2 separate regions of the Homo sapiens genome follow, and region 1 is linked to region 2. The links are contacts of gene promoters, found by promoter capture Hi-C in human tissues and cell types (Jung and others, 2019). All regions are on one chromosome and are shown on one strand. The core of a region is centred on a gene start or on the middle of the fragment in contact, and the rest is flanking DNA. Distances in the headings are between cores, read along the strand shown.

Evidence for each region. Contacts are between HindIII fragments. The study calls those that stand out against the background at their distance.
Region 1: a fragment that was not itself captured here is called in contact with the fragment with the promoter of UNCX in region 2 in 2 of the 25 tissues and cell types used here (IMR-90 fibroblasts and bladder).

The regions. Positions count from the first base shown.
Region 1 is chr7:1,336,312-1,339,078 of GRCh38, forward strand. No RefSeq gene overlaps it. Among named protein-coding and RNA genes, the nearest start is that of UNCX, 100 kb to the left of the region's middle. The HindIII fragment of the contact is 5,963 bases long and covers 1-2,767 here.
Region 2 is chr7:1,231,453-1,234,444 of GRCh38, forward strand. It overlaps UNCX (UNC homeobox), which reads left to right and starts at 1,420. Exons shown (of 3, transcript NM_001080461.3): 1 at 1,420-1,839; 2 at 2,068-2,243. The coding sequence starts at 1,566. RefSeq lists an enhancer at 2,425-2,969. The HindIII fragment of the contact is 11,886 bases long and covers 1-2,992 here.

The sequences.
Region 1 (2,767 bases), core at 216-2,715, 100 kb after region 2:
TCCCGTCATGGGGTTTGTGCTATTGTCGGTATTCACTTTACTTATGCATGTGTTATAAACCTGACATTGTTATTTTTGTTTAAACAGTCAATTATCATTGTAAGACATTTAAAAAATAACAGAAAAATCATGTATTTTCCTATGTACTCACCATTCCCAGTGCCTCTCATTCCTTGTGTAAATTCACATTTCTATCAGCTTGAAGGACTTCCTTTAATGTTTCTCGTAGTACACGTGTGCTGCTGATGAGTTATTTCAGCTGTTGTTTGTCTGAAAATGTTTTTTATTTTTAAAAATTTTTCCACTTAGCCTTGACTTGAAACTCATGAAAATATCTTTATTTCATTGTCAGTTCTGAAAAATAGTTTTGCTGGGTATAGAATTCTAGGTTGGAAGGGTTTTCAGTACTTTCAAGATGTTGCTCCGGTGTCTGGCTTTAATATTTCCACTGAAAAAAAACCTGCTGTCATTCTTATTTTTAACTTTCTGTGTGTTTTATCTCTATGTGTCTTTTCTTTGCTTTTAAGATTTTTCTTGGCTGGGCACAGTAGCTCATACCTGTAATCCCAACACTTTGGGAGGCCAAGGTGGGTGGATCACCTGAGGTCAGGAGTTCGAGACCAGCCTGACCAACATGGTGAAACCTCATCTTTACAAAAAATCTAAAAAATTAGCTGGGTTTGGTGGTGCACACCTGTAGTCTCAGCTACTCAGGAGGCTGAGGTGGGAGGATCCCTTGAGCTCAGCAGGCAGAATCTGCAGTGAGCTGTGATTGCACGAGTGCACTCCAGCCTGGGTGACAGAGCAAGACCCCATCTCAAAAAAAAAAAAAAGCTTCCTTTAAGTAATTTCATAATGATATACCTGCATGTACTTTTCATCATATTTCTTAAACTTGGGGTATGTCAGACTTTTTATCCATGAGTTTATAACTTTGATCACATTTGGTAAATTTTCAGCCATTAGCTCTTCAAAATATTTTTTTCTCTCCCCTCTCCTTCAGGAACTCCAATTACCTACACATTAGGCTGCTTGAAGCTGTCCCACAACTTGCTGATGTTTGTAATTAAAATAAAATGATTTATTCTTCATTCTGAATAGCTTCTTCTGACATGTCTGATCTTCTATCATTGCCATCTAGTGTATTTTTAAATCTAAGACATTGTAGTTGGCACAACTATAAGTTCAATTTGGTCATTTTTATATCTTCTATGTTTCTTTTCTTCCTTTCTTTCTCCTTCACTTCTTTCTCTCTCTCTTCTTTTCCCTCCCTCCCTCCTTTCCTCCCTCCCCTCCCTCCCTCCTCTCCCTCCTTCTTTCTTTCTTTCTTTCTTTCTTTCCTCTCTCTTTTATATCTTCTATGTTTCTTTTCTTCCTTTCTTTCTCCTTCACTTCTCTTTCTTTTCCCTCCCTCCCTCCTTTCCTTCTTTCCTCCCTCCCTCCCTTCCCTCCCTCCCTCCTCTCTCTCCTTCTTTCTTTCTTTCCTCTCTCTTTCCTTTCTTTCTTTCTTTCTTCTTTTTCTTTCTCTCTTCTCTCTCTTTCTCCTTTCTTTTCTTTCTCTCCTCTCTCTCTTTCTCTCTTTCTTTCCTTTCTTTCGTCTCTCTCTGTTACCCAGGCTGGAGTGCAATAGCATGACAATAACTCACTGTAGCCTCAAACTCCTGAACTCAAGTGATCCTCCTGCATCAGCCTCCCAAGTACCTGGGACTACAGGAATGCACCCCCATTTCCAGCTAATTTTTAAAGATTTTGTAGAGACAGGGTCTTGCTATGTTGGCCAGGCTGGTCTTGAACTCTTAGCCCCAAGCAATCCTCCCACCTCAGCCTCCCAAAGTGCTGGGGTAATGGGTGTGAACCACCTCATCCAGCCTACATCTTCCATGTTTCTACTTCACTTTTTGAACATATAGTGAAGCCTGTCTGCTCATTCTAACATCTGTGTCAGTTCTTGGGTCAGTTTCCATTGATCAATTATTCTCCTTATTGTGGGTCATGTTTTTCAGTTTCTGTTAATGCCTGATAATCTTTGATTGGATGCTAGACATTGTGAACTTTGCCTCACTGGTTGCTTGATATTTTTGTATTCCTATAAATATACCTGAGGCTGTATTTTGGGATGTAGTCAGGTTACTTAGAAACAGTGTGATCTGGCCGGGCATGGTGGCTCATGTCTGTAATCCCAGCACTTTAGGAGGCAGAGGTGGGTGGATCACCTGAGGTCAGGAGTTCTAGACCAGCCTGGCCAACATGGTGAAACCCCATCTCTATAAAAATATAAAAATTAGCTGGGCATGATGGCGGGTACCTGTGATCCCAGCTACTCAGGAGGTTGAGGCAGGAGAATTGCTTGAACTTGGGAGGCGGAGGTTACAGTGAGTCAAGATGGTGCCATTGCACTCCAGCCTGGGTGACAGAGACTCCATCTCAAAAAAAAAAAAAAAAAAAAAGGCTGGGTGTGGTGGCTCACGCCTGCAATCCCCACAGTTTGGGAGGCTGAGGTGGGCGGATCACGAGGTCAGGAGATCGAGATCTTACTGGCCAACATGGTGAAACCCTGTCTCTACTAAAAATACAAAAATCAGCTGGGCGTGGTGGTGCATGCCTGTAATCGCAGCTACTCGGGAGGCTGAGGCAGGAGAATCACTTGAACCAGGGAGTTGGAGGTTGCAGTGAGTCAAGATGGTGCCATTGCATTCCAGCCTGGTGACAGAGCGAGACTCAGTCTAAAAAAGAAAGAAAGAAAGAAACAGTGTGATCTTTTCCAGTC
Region 2 (2,992 bases), core at 170-2,669:
ACCTGACCCGGAGGGACGCAGAGATGCGCACGGTCCCGGCCTGCCCTTCCCTCTCACGCGGGCTAGGGCTTGGAGGCCTGGCCCAAGTCACTTACTTACACCCAAAGCCAACTGGTCTGTCACTTTGCCCTGGGGTGGTGGTGGCTCCGCAGACTGGCCCAGCCCAGGCCGGAGCTCTCCTCCTCTCTTCCCCGCCCTGGGCTGGCCGAGGCTCGGGGCACTCACTGCTGGAGAGGTGGCCCTAACCCAACTAGTCCAGCACTGGGGTCCCGCAGCCAAATGCGACCACCCCACTGACAAACTTTTTTACAAAGGAGAGAGATGGACCGACATCCCCTCATTTCTTTCCTTGCTGCCCACAATCCTGATTTGCTGCTTATTTAAGAATATATCCTTTAGTGATTTAGCTTTGAGTCTATCAATATTTTATAGCAGAGAAGGGAGTGACACTTCTCTGAGAACATAATTTAATTATAATAAATGGGTTGGGTGCTTCAGCCCCATCCTTCAGAGGCCGAGTCAGAGCGGATGTATTTATCTTTATTCGAGCGTGTAAGGGGGTGGGGGCGGATCGGCCCCACCCCAAAGTTACTTTTCCCCTCCTGTCCCCATCCCTCTCTCCTCCTCTGCGCCCGGGCTTTATGGGGATGGGGGTCGGGGAGCCTCCGCAGCCCCCCCCACCTCTGTCTTTGTAGATAGGGCGACTGCCAGTCAATCAGAGAGGGCATTAGTTACGCCTCTTTATTGACAGGGTGCTACATTCTGTAGTTCTTCTCTTTCGGGATCGCCCTCCTCCTCCTCCTCCTCCTCCTTCCTCCTCTCCCGCCGCCTGCAGCCGGAGAGGAGGAGATGAGAAGCCTTGTAGTTTTAAATTCAATGTGACAGTTTCGGAAAAGCGGATGATGAATCTCCTATTATTGGATCAGTCTATTTGCCGCTCAATGTCTCTCTGTAATTGGAGCAACATCACTTTAAAGGTTCAGAGAGTACAGCATTTCTGGTGAAAAATCCCCACAACACGGCGCTGAATGTTTTAAAGGGAAATCTATTAGTGATTTGCGGAGGGGCGGGGAGGCGGCGGCTGGCGGGAGGCGCGGGCTCGGGGCCGGCCCCGAGTGAAGTGGGGGGCTAGCTGGGGGCCCCTGCCCCGGGCCCAGGCACCAGCCCGCGCCTGCCCGGCCCTGGGCGGCCCCTCCCTCCCTCCCTCCCTCCCTCCGGCTCCCCCCGCCCCCAGCCCGTCTTGTTGTGACAGTTCCTGATACTGTTTATTGAGGTGCATGTCAGGTATAATTAGCAATCGATATGGAAAACGTTTCCCTGCACCCAGCACGCCTCTGACGTCAGAGCCGATTAGCGCTTCTTATTGGTCCCAAATTCCCCGGGCCGCGGCTAATTATCGGGAGCTTGATGTTGATAAGTAAAGCGCCGGAGTGCGGGCGAAGCATGTGTGGGGCTCCGGGTCCCTGTCTCCGCCGCCGCCGCCCGCGCCTCCCGCCGCTGGCCCGCCCCGGCCCCGGCCCGCGCCCCCGCGCCCCGCCACCGGCCCCGCCGGCCCCCCGCGCGAGATGATGGACGGCCGCCTCCTGGAACACCCGCATGCCCAGTTCGGGGGCTCGCTGGGCGGCGTGGTGGGCTTCCCCTACCCGCTGGGCCACCACCACGTGTACGAGCTGGCCGGGCACCAGCTGCAGTCGGCCGCCGCCGCCGCCTCGGTGCCCTTCTCCATCGACGGCCTGCTCGGGGGCTCGTGCGCCGCCGCCGCCTCGGTGGTCAACCCCACGCCGCTGCTGCCAGCCGCCTGCGGGGTCGGCGGGGACGGCCAGCCCTTCAAGCTGTCAGGTAGGCGCGGCGGGCGGGAGGGCGGGGAGGAGTGCGGCTGGGGGCGGGGGCCCTGGTCCGGCCGAGGCGCTGGGGGGCCCGGGGCTGGCGAAGGAGAGCCGGCTCCTAGGCGGCCGTCTCTGCGCCCCCCCCCCCGGATCCAGGCGGCCAGCGGGTAGCGGGAGGGAGGGGTGGGGGTCGGGCCTGGGCCGGTGGCTGAGCCGCGCTGCGTCCTGTGACTGCCCGCAGACTCGGGGGACCCGGACAAGGAGAGCCCGGGCTGCAAGCGGCGGCGCACCCGCACCAACTTCACCGGCTGGCAGCTGGAGGAGCTGGAGAAGGCGTTCAACGAGAGCCACTATCCCGACGTGTTCATGCGCGAGGCGCTGGCGCTGCGCCTAGACCTGGTCGAGTCCCGAGTTCAGGTAAAGACCCGGCGTCGCTCCCGGATCTGCCATCCGGACCCCAGGCTCTGGGCGCGCCGGGACGCCTTTGTTCCAGGTGGCGAGATATCGTCCCCTTGCCGCGGGCCCGCTTCGCGCTCGCCTGCTGGGGAAGAGTGGAGGGGTGGGGGTTCTGGGGCTCGGCCCCTCACGGACAGCGGGGTGGGTAACTGCCCCCCAAAAGCCTGGGCGGCTTGAGAAGGGCCGGCGGCAGCACCCGAGTCACCAGAACAGCGGCTGCGTCCGAACCGGGAAGCGGCGTGGTGGGTTGGCGGAGGCCGGGCCAAGTGAGGTCTCCAGGCAGGGGCGAGGAGGGGAGGAGGGGCCGGCTTGGCTCCGACCCGGAGGAGAGAGGGAAGGGGACCCCCCCCCGCCCCCGCACCGCCTCAACCTTCCGCGCGAGGCTCTGTCACCCAGCCTGGAGCGAACGAGTCTGTTTACCTTGCGCCTGCAAAATATTCAGATGGAAACATGTATTTATTCATCGCTTTGCAGAAGGGAACAGCTGAGGAAGGGGAGGCAGAAGCTTAAACAGTTAACACATTGAGAAAGTGGGAGAAAAAAAGGTGTCTGAATTTTTAATAATAACCCCGGTCTCATCTTTTTCTTACGACTGTTTTCCCGTAAATTTGCTATCATTTGGAGATGGCTGATGGTATTGTTTTAAAAATACAGTGTCAGCTTGGTGGATTAAAAATTCCAAGATGATTTGTGCATAATTAAATGTTTCC